Regions from separate parts of the Homo sapiens genome. Here region 2 is linked to region 1. The links are contacts of gene promoters, found by promoter capture Hi-C in blood cells and fetal thymus (Javierre and others, 2016). All regions are on one chromosome and are shown on one strand. The core of a region is centred on a gene start or on the middle of the fragment in contact, and the rest is flanking DNA. Distances in the headings are between cores, read along the strand shown.

The links. Contacts are between HindIII fragments. The CHiCAGO score rates a contact against its expected background, and 5 or more counts as called.
Region 2: a contact is called between a fragment that was not itself captured here and the fragment with the promoter of GNAT2 in region 1, in 1 of 17 cell types (total CD4 T cells). The highest score is 5.1, in total CD4 T cells.

The regions. Positions count from the first base shown.
Region 1 is chr1:109,617,150-109,623,835 of GRCh38, forward strand. GNAT2 (G protein subunit alpha transducin 2) reads right to left here and starts at 2,467. Exons shown (of 9, transcript NM_001377295.2): 1 at 2,334-2,467. It overlaps AMPD2 (adenosine monophosphate deaminase 2), which reads left to right and starts at 2,688. Exons shown (of 19, transcript NM_001368809.2): 1 at 2,688-3,129; 2 at 3,765-4,117. The coding sequence starts at 4,027. RefSeq lists enhancers at 1,855-2,385, 2,366-2,415, 2,386-2,914, 3,436-3,485, 3,445-3,973 and 2 more and a silencer at 2,606-2,795. The HindIII fragment of the contact is 17,616 bases long and covers 1-6,686 here.
Region 2 is chr1:109,944,346-109,951,031 of GRCh38, forward strand. No RefSeq gene overlaps it. Among named protein-coding and RNA genes, the nearest start is that of CSF1, 37 kb to the left of the region's middle. The HindIII fragment of the contact is 2,020 bases long and covers 2,096-4,115 here.

The sequences.
Region 1 (6,686 bases), core at 1,217-3,716:
GTATGGTTTGGGAAATTGCCTTGGCCAAGGACCTTTTTGGAGCTGCAGATATTCTCTCCCAAGTTTAGTATCTGTGAAGATTGTTCTGGCCTAGCTAGGGAGGCGGACATCACAAGTGAGCTGAAGTCCAGAAGCAAAGAAAAGCACTTCTTCAGAGAAACAGGAGTGCACCATCTTTAGGGAGCTGGGATTCCGGGAGGGCCAGTTAAGGAGCCATGTGGGGAACAGGCTAGGAGGGGAGGAAGCTGTGTTTGGAGCTAGGGAATATCTCAGAGGCTCAAAGGCAATGAATGTTAAGGCCTCAGTGTGAAAAAAGCCCAGGCCATAGGATGACTCACTCCTTTATTTCCCAAGCTCTGTTCTGCGTAGACAATGAAACCTCACTGAGATTCTTGCTGGTATGGAGTGGGTGGAGGGATTGATGCCTAACTATAATCAGGGCCGACTTCCTAGCAGCAACAATACACCAGATGACCTGGAAATAGGGGAGGGTTGTAGAGTGAAGGGTGTGTTGCAGATGGGACTAGGGGACTAGCATAAAGGGACTAATGAACTGGTTTGCCTGGGCTGGGTGGAGGGCAAGGATTGCCACCTATTGGCTGCTGAGGTAGGTAGGTCTGCATTAAGCAGGATGCTCAAGAGACCTGGCCCAATGCAAGATACTATCTTTAAAACTATGTCAACATTTGCATCTTATCAGAAGATACATGACATTTATGTAGTTACATGGTGCTTGATTTTTGAGATTCATTTTATTCATTCTTGAGAGTCCATCAGCCTCAAAATCCCTAAGCGCCCCAAGACCAATTCAGTGGGCCATAAATGTAAACAGAATAGTTTAAGTCTGGGGTTAAGACCCCGGGAAGGCTGGGTTGGGGGGACTGTGGAGGCAATTACAGATTTTTACAGATTTTTGTTGATTTCTATCCCCTTGATTATAAAAGTTATGGGTATGTATTATAATTTCTAAAATGCAAATAAATATAAAGAAAATAAATATAACCCATAATTCCATCACTACAGATAATCATTGGTAAACTTGTTGGTGTGTTTCTTTTCTACCCATGTATATCACATAAGTAGGACCATACTGTGTATAGTGTTTTGCATCCATTCTTTTACCTAACTTTATATTGTAAACATTTCCACATCATTAAACATTTCTCCAAGAACAATTTTTAATGGCTGTATTTCATGGTATGAATATTACATAAACATTCCCCTATTGTTCGACCTTTAAAGTATCTAACTTTTCTATGCAATACACATTGTGGTGCTGAACAACTTTTTGCATACATATTTTTCTGGCAGCTCTTTTTAGAAAAACAACTTCCAGAAAGTTGATTACTGGGTCAAATAATAAGAACCTTTTTGAAAATTTTGATTCTATATTACCAGATGGCTTTCAGAAAGATTATATCAGTGTTCAAGGCCACCAGTAATGTGTTTGTGCACATGTACGTGTGTGTGTGTCTCCCATCTCACTAACTATACCCTTGCCAACCTGCATTAGCGTTTATTTTTTGGTTTTTTGTTTTTTAGTCTTTGCTATTTTGATTAGGTAAACCTGGTTATCTCTGTTCTCTTTTTAGTTTTATGGATTCTGTGTGAGGTGAAGAGGCCAAGTTTTTTTTAAGTTTGTTCAGGGAACAGTAGCCAGGGATCAATGGAAGTGGCACCAGATGCAGGTGGAGAAAAGGGTTCAGGGTCCAGAATCCAGCGTGGGGAGAGAAGAGGGAGGCAGAGTTTGGGAAGGATCTCTGCTGTGGGAGTGGTAAGAACTGGGAGGAGCCAGACAAACAGCATTAGAACAACTGGGTGTGGGGGGCAAAGGCCTCCCACAAGAGGGAAAATAGGGAAGAGATTAATTCCTGCTAATGCATTTAATTATATTCAGTGAAGTCTTAGGGACTTCCCTCCACAAGTTCCCTTTAGGTCGGATTATCTACCCCTTGGCAGTGGGGATGCTTGTTGGATAGACCCCAGAACGGCTGCAAGTGAATCAACCTGTGAGTGTCAATAGAGAACCAAGGCCAAGGCTAAAGCAATGGTAATACATGAATACTGAGTACTAACTACAGGCCAGGCACAGTTCTAAGCAGTTAACTTATATTAACTCATTTATCTTAACCACCATATAAAGCAGGTACTCTTACACTCATTTTACAGACGAAATAGAAGCACAGAGAAGTTAGGTAACTTGCCCAGTATCAGTCAGGAAGTAGGTGAAATCTGGATTTGAACCCAGACATTCTGGCTAGAGTTAAAGCTCTTAACCACCAAATACAGAAATGTGGGAAGGGGAGCCAGAATTGCAGGGCACAGCCTCCTACCTACGCCGGCCGGAAGAAAACAGACGACCAAGTGAGATTGCAGGGGCAGGACTTCTGCTTAAAATGAATCCTGGGACAATGATAACAGCTACCTTTCACTGGGCCCTCACTTCGTGCCAGGCACTGTGTAAAGGGACTTTACGTTTAATCTTCACAGTAACCCCTTTGAGTGAGGTACTGTCATTACCCCATCTTACTGATGAGGAAGCTGACGCACGGAACTGGCCCAAGACCCAGGGTCGGCTCAGGCCAGCCCTACCGCGGTGTGGTGGCTGCCCACGTGGCGCCCAGGAAGAGAAAAAAATGGCGAGGCGGGGTCGGCAGGCGGAGGCGGGGCCAGGCGGGGGCGGGGCCAAGGGCCGCAGAGCCTGGCGCGGAGCCGGCGAGATTTTGGTGGGGTCTCACCTGTTGCGTGACTCCCCCACAGTCCGGCCGCGGGAGTCCGACCCTGAATGCCCAGGGAGTGTTGAGAGAAATCTGGACGAGTTTCGGGTCCCGCTCCCTTGGGAGCACGTGGCCTACCAGCCTCTCGATTGCAGGGTTGGGTGGTCGCGACACCGGGGTCGCCTTGAGGCCAGTCCGGCTGCCGAGGTCTGCGGGAGTCCACCTCCGGCCAGCTGGCAATTTTGAAAGACTGCCTTACTTTCCCCATCTCAGTGCCAGGGCAGGGGCCCTTGGAGTGACTTGGCTGGGGTCTGTGGCCCGATCCCCCTGCCGTCCCTCAGGACCCGGGCTTTCTGCTGTACAGACTTCTCGTGGGCAGCCTCCCCTCGGAACTCGGGCATCATGGCCTCAGGTGAGTGTGTGTACGTGTGTTGGAGGGAGGGTCTCTGGGACAGAGAAGTGCTGTGGCCAGAGTGACAAGAGGGTGGGAGTCACAGCACAGCAGCAGGACCTAGGGAAGGCGGTCAGCTCCTCCCAGGAGGGCCTGGGGAGCAGAGCCAGAGTGTGCAGAGACAGAGGAAAAATCCAAAGAGGCTAGGGTCTCTGTCCCAGACCCCCAGACAAGGGGGTCTCCTGGCCTTCCTGCCTTCCTGGGAGGTAGCTATTTGGCGACGGTGGAATTTTCCCGGGACAGGCCCCTCCCTCCTGGGCTGGGATTCTCGGTTCTTCCCCCTCCTCCCAGAGCTGGGCTACCCCGGGAGCTGAGGGTCAGATGTGGAAGGAAAGTGGGTGCTGGGTTTTCACGGAGTATGCCTGCCCTGCCCCGGGAGGACTGTGTTTGAGCTTGGACTCGCTCGCTGCTGAATTCCTGTTTGTTATTCTTTTTTCTTCCAGGCTAGCTGGAAGGACCAGCTAGCCTGGACTTTGGCTTCTTTGCCCGGGAGCCCTGGCATGATGGGGTGAGGGCTCTTGGTGGGTTAGTGGAGAGCTGGGGGCTGGCCCTTCCCCATCTTCTTTTCTACCCACCCCCTCCCCGCCCCCCGCCAGGCCCAGCCACCATCAGTCACGTCACTCCTGGGACTGAGGAGGCAGGGGAGGGATAAGGGGCAGAGATGGAGGCCCCACTCCCCGAGGTTGCCTAGACAACATGAGAAATCGTGGCCAGGGCCTCTTCCGCCTGCGGAGCCGCTGCTTCCTGCATCAGTCACTCCCGCTGGGGGCGGGGCGGAGGAAGGGGTTGGATGTGGCAGAGCCAGGCCCCAGCCGGTGCCGCTCAGACTCCCCCGCTGTCGCCGCCGTGGTCCCAGCCATGGCATCCTATCCATCTGGCTCTGGCAAGCCCAAGGCCAAATATCCCTTTAAGAAGCGGGCCAGCCTGCAGGCCTCCACTGCAGCTCCAGGTGAGTGTGTGCTTCCTGGCCTCAGGATAGATGCTGGGCTCTGTCTTGCCACCTCTCGCCCAAGGTGCTGGTCCCCTCAGAGGGGGCCACCTCCTCCGGCATCCTCTCTGTGGTGGTGCCCCTCAACCTCAGTCCCAGGGACAGCCGGCTTGGAAGGTGGGGTGAGGGGTGGTGGGGGGCGGGGGGTGGATCTGAGATATCTGTGCCAGGGATGCTGTCCTCTGTCACAAGGAGTGGGCATGGTGTGGGTGCAGCAAGAGGTGTGTATGCACACGTGTCAGCGTGTGCATGTGCTAAGACTGCGTGTGAAGCATGTGTGAATGGAGCGGGGGTGTGTGGGACTGACTGTTTTGTGGACTGGCCACTCTGACTGGCGCCTGTGCCTTTACCAGGCAGGCTTAGGCTGTTCTGTGGCTAGTTCCACTTTTTAGGACCCCACATCTAGATCCCCCTCACTGGGGGTCTGACATCTGGGCACAACCATTGCTGGCTGGCATCCCACAACTGGGGGCTTGACTGTATCTATCGTTTGCTATTTGCTCATTCCTGGTCTATATTGTGAGCCTCCTTAGGAGTATGGGGTGTCCTTGGTCAGGTCCGTGCAGGGTTCAGGCTGGGGCTGCTGCCCGCACTGTGTGTGCTTCTGCACCCTTTGGTTCGTCTCTCACTCTAGTAAGCATCTCTGCATCATTTGGAGCAGGCAGTGAGGTGCGGCAGTGCCTGTCTCAGTGAGGGCTTGGCTGCCTGGCTCTGTGCTTGCAGAGGGATATCTGCCTGCTGTCTGCTCCCAGGCCTTGTGGCTAAGGAAAGACCCACCCTGACTTTGATGACCAGATCATGCCGACTGCCCCCACCCTTGCAGCTGTCTGTAGCTATAGCCCAAGTATCAACCTCCTATATTTTTTTGTTTCATTGAAGATGACTGGTGCAAGGTCTCTACTGTCCTGAGGGTGTTCTCTGTGCCCAGGTCTGTGCCATCCAGAAAGGGTGTCCCCTGGGTGGGGCCCTTCCTGGCCCTGTTTGGTTCAGCAATAGGGCAACTGATACGGATCTAGCCCAGAGCTGGAGACCCTTCGGTGGTCAGATGGTAAGAGCATCTGATACTTGTGGGGTCAAAGCCGTGGACACCCCTGTGCCTACTGAGGCAGTCGTGGCAGTGTGTGAGGGGCTCCTGGTCGAGAGGGGAGATGGGGTGCTCAGAATCTCAGAGTTGGTGGGAGTGGCTCTGGAGCAGCCCACTCTGGCTTTTGCTTGACTTCTCCGTAAGTGTGGGTGTATGTGTGTGGTGCTGACCCCTAGAGAAAGGACCAGTAGGCAGCTGAGTCTTCTAGGCCTGGCCTCTGAGAACGTAGCGGTTACTGCCCGTGTGCCACCTTCAGTGAGCCTGCGGCAGCCCTGGAGAGTGGTCTGGCAGGCTGGGGGGATGGCACTGGCTGTTGGAATCTGTCCTGCTCACCCCAGGATTGCTGTGGAGCCTGAGACCCCCCTGCTAGGAGAGGGGGTTGAGATTTGAGCCTTTGACTCAACTCCTGCTGACCCAATATGAACCAGCCATGGAGGTCTGTGGTCGGCCTCCCCTAGAAGGAGTCAGAAGTGGTCTGGGGCCATATGTAGGGAGGAGGTGTGTAAAATCAGGGTTCTCGGGCAAGAAAAGATCTTACACTCTGGGGGTGAGACAGCTTCCCCTCTTTTCTTCCTCTTCCCACTTTGTCCTTTTCCAAGTAAGAGATAGAGTCACCCCATCTCCACTCCTGCCAAGTTCACTTCACTGCCCTTTACTGGCCTATTGCCTTTGCCCTGCACTGGGCCCAGGGAACCTCCCACTGTCCTCAGTGGGCGGGGCTACAGGTAGAATGTATTTTGAGGGTCCCAGGAGTTCATAATTGCAGGCCTTGCCTCAACACAGAGCCTGGTGTTTTGCAGAACACTTGCAGAGCCATTATCTCTGTGAGCCTTATGGCAGTTGTGGCTAGGCAGGGAAGGGACCACTTATCGCCCCACTTGTAGATGAGGACCCAAAGCCTCCCAGAGGTAGGTAGAGACATGCCCGGAAGCAGGAACAGAATCAGATCCATGTTCTCCAAATTCTAGCCCCCTTTCTCCCAAACTTATTCTGGACAGTTTGTCCTGTCCCTGATGATAGGCTTGGATCAGGGGTTGCAGGTCTAGGGGCCTGCGAACCAGCCCCCTGAGCAGCTGGGCAGCGGGGAAGCCTCAGTGACTGGCCCCTACCTAGACTGGGCCATTTCCCCAGCTGCCAGCCAGCTCCTACCCCAGCAAAGGCCCTGTCTCTCCTGAGGGATGCCATAATCAGGGCCCAGAGGACAGTGGTGAGCAACAAGGCCACTGCCAGAAGAGGCCAACCTGGGGCTGTGGGTGTGATGAAGAGCGCTGTTCCCCTCCTTTTTCTCCCCTCTTACTCTTTGGCCAGCCAGGCCCTGCCCACTCACTGTCCCCTAGGGCAGTGGATTTTAAGGAGGCTTGGCTCCTCCCTGTCGGCCTGCCCTGCCCAAGTCAGCCTACCCTGCTACTCCCCCTTAGGAGCCTCACATCTGGCTGGGTCTTCCCT
Region 2 (6,686 bases), core at 1,856-4,355, 330 kb after region 1:
GAAGCAAGATTAAGAAGGGCTTATGGAAAAGTTAAGATTTAGCCCTATGAAGGTGCCAACTTCCCCACCACTGAAATTCCTCATCATCTAGAGGTTCAAGTCACCTACAAAGGACGCAGGTTATCCCTTCACAATCAGGGCCCAATCTATCATTTAACCGTTTAACCTCATCTCCAGCCACTCACATTCACATTCACATCTAGTAAATGTTCTTCCTCCTTGCCCTTCCTTGGGCTCTCGCTCCCCTTCCCCTTCTCACATCTACTTCCTGTCCCACCACAACCTGCTAAAATGTCCTTCCTCTAGAAAGCTGTGTTGATCCTGCTAGCTGAGTTCATCTCTTCGGTCACTCCATCTGAATCTCCAGTATGTCTTTTATGTCTTTCTCATATGCCTTCAAGCTACTTAAGTGAGTGTCTTGTGGTTTTTTTATGTCTTCCTCATATGCCTTCAAGCTACTTAAGTGAGTGTCTTGTTTTTCTTATACCTAATTACAATAACACCTTTTATTTCTATAATGCTTTACAGATTACAAAGCAAGTTGGCATATATTTTATCACTTGGTCCTCACATCTGGTGAAGCAGCTCTTTCTATCGTTTACATAGAAGGACCTAAACCCAAAGAGGTTAAATAACTGGTCCAAAGTCATGATAACCCAGAGCTTTTATGCTAGCTCTCCCCTGCTGGACTGGAAGTTCCTTGAGGGCAAGAACCCTGCCTTAATTATTTTCATATCCCATCAAAACCAACACAGGAGCTGGTTCAGAGCAGATGCTCAGTAAATGAATATGTATGACCCTGGCCAATCCCTTCACCTCTCCACACCTCACAGTGCTAGGTAAAGATGTTCTTTACGTCCTTCCCAGATTCCTTTATGGCAAGAGTCAATAGCACCACTTCTCTGTATTCCCTTCTGACACCTGGATGAGCTGCATATCTGCAGGGCAATTGTCAGGATGTCCATTCCATTCTGTGCCTCTTCTTTCACTAAACACTAATGTATTAGTTTCCTATTGCCGATATAACTAATTGCTGCAAACTTAGTCACTTAAAACAACACAAATTTGGCCGGGTGTGGTGGCTCACACCTGTAGTCCCAGCACTTTGGGAGGTCAAGGTGGGTGAATCACTTGAGGTCAGCAGTTCTAGGCCAGCCTGGCCAACATGGTAAAACCTGGTCTCTACTAAAAATACAAAAATTAGCCGGGCGTGATGGCTCAGACCTGTAATCCCAGCTACTCAGGAGGCTGAGGCAGAAGAATTGCTTGAACCAGGGAGGCAGAGGTTGCCATGATCCAATATGGCACCATTGCACTCCAGCCTGGGCAACAAAGTGAGACCCTGTCTCAAAAACAAACAAAAAACCCCCACAAATTGATTCAATTTATTATCTTAAATATCTGGAGTTCAGAAGTCTGAAATTGGTCTCAGTGGGCCAGAGTCGAGGTGTGGGTCGGGCTGGTTCCTTCCAGACACTCTGAGGGGGAATCTGTTTCTTTGACTTTTTCAGCTTCTAGAGGCCTCCTGCATTCCTTGGTGTGCGCTCCCTTCCTCCGTCTTCAACGCTCATCACACCAATTGCAGCTTCTGCCATCACATTGCCTTCTCTTCTGTGGGGAGATCTCCCCCTGCCTTCCTCTTATAAGGACTCTTCTGATCACCTTTAGGGCCCACCTGGGTAAGATGGCATTCCTAGTTTCCAGACACGAGGACCTGGATCTGTTTGGGAGACATTATTCAGCCTACCGCAATTATTATTACACCAACAATTTACCTATTATTTGTATATTTATCTGTATCTCCAGTACACTGTGAGCAACTTGAAGACTAAGACTGTACCTTATCTACCTCTCTATTCTCGTCTCCTAACATGGCTCCTCAGATACAGTAGGTGCTTAATAAATAATGATTGTGTGAATGAACAATCCCATACTTACAGACTTCTATTGCTTGTGCCTTAGGGAGCATCACAGCACAACATTCCAAAGAAATCTAAAGCTAACTTTTTTTTTAAAGCCTTAAAATAAATGTCAGTCTTTAGCACAATTATCTTGGGACATAGAGGAGAAGATTATACAACACATTGCACAGCAAAGCTTCCGAAAAATGCCCTGAAGACATTTCTTCCCTCCTCCAGACCCCTTCACTTAGTCCCTGCACTTGCCCGCCCATCCACTGCCTCAGCCAGCGAAATCTGTAACTTTTCCCAGGGAAAATGCACAAGCATCAGGATTTAATTTTGACACTACCCACTCTCAACCAATGGGCAGGCAATCAGCAGGAAGAAAAAAAAAAAAGCACTATCTACTTCCTAAATTCTTGGATGTGTTTCTCAATCTGTCTCTCACACAGTGAGGTCTTCAAGGCACCCGTGGTCTAGTGCCCAATGACCCCATGACTCCATTTGGGACCAGTCCTGCCTCACTCGAAGCAATTCAAGGAGAACTGCCTCTAGCCAGGGTCCCAAGGCTGACTGTGAGACGGCCTCTGGTGAGGGGAGAAACCTGCCTGGTAGCCCAACTGAGACCTGAAGGCTTAGGGCATCCAACCTTCCCACGCCAGCCTAGCATCTCCAGTGTAAATAACTTGAAGGCTTTCTTTCTTCCTCCTCCCAGATCCTCACTGTTTTGGGTAGCTCTTGGTTATAAATTCCTGATGCTTCTATCTGATCCAAACTTTCTTATTCTCTGAGCTGTGCTCCCAGGCACTTTGCTGCATGGCAAGATAACCTTAGTACAAAATAATGATAGGAGCTTGCAGTTAATGAGAATCCCAATGTGGGAGCTTTCCCTGTTTTGTTGCACCTAAACCTCACTGCATCCCTAAGAGGAAGGTGCTGTTGTTAAACTGAGCCACAGGCGTGTAAGTGACTTGCCCAAGGTCACACAGCTAATAAATGGTAGAGTCAAAATTCAAAGCCAGGGCTGGGTGTGGTGGCTCACACCTGTAATCCCAGCACTTTGGGAGGCCAAGGCGGGTGGATCACCTGAGGTCAGGAGTTCCAGACCAGTCTGGCCAACGTAGTGAAACCCCTTCTCTACTAAAAATCCAAAAATTAGGTGGGCATGGTGGTGCACACCCGTAATCCCAGCTACGCGGGAAGCTGAGGCAGGGGGAATTGCTTGAATCCAGGAGATGGAGGTTGCAGTGAGCCAAGATCATGCCACTGCACTTGAGCCTGGGTGACAGAGTGAGACTACATCTAAAAAAAAAAAAAAAAAAAAAAAAAAAAAAGAATTCAAACCCAGGCAGTCTGGCATGGCATGCAGGTAGGCAAAACATCTCATCTTCCTGTTTACCTGCATTATGAGTTGGACAAATAAATTGTAGCTCCTCTCCGTCTTGCCATGTTTCCTGTTTAGAACTTTCAGGCATCCCGTGGCATTTACAGAAGGCTCTGGGTTCACACAGGCGAAATTCCCTCACAATGGATCTTTACTCTGGAATTTTCCCGTCCCAAGGCCTGCCACTCCTGCAGCCTTAGAAGGCACTTCCTCCCTGGTCCCATGCTCCCTGCGAAGTTCTCTACTTTCCAGGAGCGTGGCTTACAGCTTCCTCCTTTGGGCACCCAGTTCCTAATGAAACTGAACCTTTCAGTCCTGCCTGCCTGGGCACCCTCCTCTCTTCATCTTACTGCAGGACAAGTGTGTCCATGAGGCCGAGTTAATAGCGTCCATGAAGTGAAATGAAATCGTTACTTCAAGCCTCAAGCCTCACCAGGGAGTTTCTTAGACTTTTCAATCTGGCAGGTTGGCATAACCCTGTGTAAGAGGATTCTTCACCTAGTACAGTAAGTTCTGGGCAGCGCATTGTTCCAAAGATTAGAATTCTGATCTCAGGGGTGACCTCTCTTGGCTTTATTACAGAAAAATCACACTTCAACATCTCAGGTGGTAGCACTGCTGTGTTGACATTCACATTCTTTCATGTTAAAAAAAGTCCCCAGATTTTCATTCTTAATTGTCCAGTGTGTTATTATAAGAAAAGTTGCTTAGAATTTCCTCTATTATTTGGCACCTGAGTCATTTTCAAGTTTCACTTTTTTACACAGTATGAAACAGATTGATTTTTTTTTGTTTGCTTAATTTTTGGTTTATTTACTTCCTTGTAGATAAGCTTCCAAAAACAGAATAAATACTCCAAAAGATATGAGCATTTTTACTGCCTTTGATGCATATCCTTTTATTGTTTAAGAGATTGCACAAGTTCACATTATCACCAGCAACATATAAGTACCTGTTTCCCCACAGTTCTGTTAACATGGGATTTATTACTTTTACTAGCTTTTTGCTAGTCTAATAGTTCTAGAATGATATGTTAAAGTTGTTTAAATGGGCTTCTCTTTATTACTTTCAAGGCTGTATTTTTTTATGTGATAATTGTTCTTCCTTTTTGGGGGGAATAAACTGTTCCTCTCCTTTGACAATTTACAGAGTAGAATCCAGACACAAGCCAGTATTTTCTCCATCTATTGTTTTCTACTTGGGGATAAGCTTTTAATATTTGTCACATCTTTTATTTCTATAGCATAGTCTTGTATGTAGCTGCTGTAAAGTTCAGAGTAATCTTTATATATTTGGCCAGGTGTGGTGGCTCACGCCTGTAATCCCAGCAGTTTGGGAGGGTGAGGCGGGCAGATCATTTGAGGTCAGTAGTTCGAGACCAGGCTGGCCAACATGGTGAAACCCCATCTCTTCAAAAAAATATGAAAGTTAGCTGGGCGTGGTGGTATGTACCTTTAGTCCCAGCTACTTCTGGGGCTGAGGCAGGAGGATCGCTTGAACCCAGGAGGTCAAGCCTGCAGTGAACGAAGATTGTGCCACTACACTCCAGCCTGAGGGACAAAGTGAGACCCTGTCTAAATAACAATAATAATAATAATAATATATGTTTATATTTCTCTACCTTGTCCTTAATAAATTTTTTTCATTTCTTCAATAGTCAGACATTTACGACCCCTTCAAACATGAGATAACCATGTTATTTTTCCCATTTAAAAAAATACTAAGCTGGGTGCGTTGGCTCACGCCTGTAACCCCAGCACTTTGGGAGGCCGAGGCTGGCAGATCGCTTGAGGTAGGGAGTTCAACACCAGCCTGGCCAACATGGTGAAACCCCCTCTCTACTAAAAATACAAAAATTAGCAGGGTGTGGTGGTACATGTCTGTAATCCCAGCTACTTGGGAGGCTGAGGCAGGAGAATCACTTGAACCCAGGAGTGAGAGGTTGCAGTGAGCCGAGATCACGCCACTGCACTCCAGCCTGGGTGACAGAGTGAGACTCCGTCTTAAACAAACAAACAAACAAACAAACAAAAACTGGTGTAGGTTTTACTCTAATCATCTGAAATTTATATTATTATTATTATTTTTTTTTTTGAGACAGGGTCTCACTCTGTTGCCCAGGCTCAAGCGAAGTGGCATGGTCTTGGCCTCACTGCAGCCTCGACCTCCTGGGCTCAAGTGATCCTTCCACCTCAGTCTCCTGAGTAGCTGTGGTTACAGATATGTGCCACCATGCCTGGCTAATTCTTGTATTTTTTTTTTGTAGAGATGGGGTTTTACTATGTTGCCCAGGCTGGTCTTGAACTCCTGAACTCAAGCAATCTGCCTGCCTAGGCCTCCAAAATTGCTGGGATTACAGGCCTGAGCCACGATGCCTGGCTGTATTATTATACATAATGCCATGTATTACTCTAAGATATTAAATTCCCTTTTTATTGTTTCATTGCTCAAACAATTAGCAAGCAATGAACTCTTTCTGCCTTGTGTTACTTCTGCTTTGTCATAAATTAAGTTTATAAAATAGAATAGCAGTGCCACAGGAATTTCTGTTCTATCTCATTCATTCATTCATTCATTCAACAAATATGTGTTAAGCACCTACTATGTGCCAGGTACCATTCTGGGTGCGAAGGATACAGCTGTTAACAAAACAAACATCCCTGCCCTCATGGAGCTATATCATTCTGGTGGTGGTGGAGACAATTTAAAAATAGATAACAGATGGATAAATAAATAATAAATAAGACAGGAAAAAGTGATAGGGAGCCTGGCATGGGAATGAAAAGTTGAACTTTTCTCTGGGAATCTTAAGGAGGACCTCATTGAGAAGATGCTGTTTTAGCAAAGCCCAAAGGAGGGGAGGGAACAAGTATGCAAATATGTGGGAGAAAAAAGGGTTCCAGACAGAAGCGCAAGTATAAAGGAACATCAAATTTTGTGACCTGGAAAGTGCCTAATGCATTCAGGCCTAGTGAGAGGCCAAGGTGACTGCAGTGGAATAAGTGACAGACAGAACAGGAGAGGTGACCAGACATGGAAGGGCGAGAGCAGATCTTGCAGGGCCAGGTCATGCATTGTAAGGACTGTGGTGTTTACTCAGAGGCAGATGAGAAGTCTAGGATGGTTTTGCACAAAGGAAAGGCAGGATCTGACTTAGCTTATCAGTGCCACCCTGGCTGTGGTGCTAAGAAAGTTTTGATCAATGTACTTTTTGTAATACATTTTAAATCCTGTGAAAGCCCTACTTTTTTTGTATCTTTTCTTATTTTCTAAGATTGTTATCTATTATTCTGCTTCTGTAATTATTTTGTAAGGCCTTAAACTGGTACTACATGAAATCTATTAACTTTGAAACACTGTCACATTTATTATATATGTATTTTTCCAATAATAATCTGGTG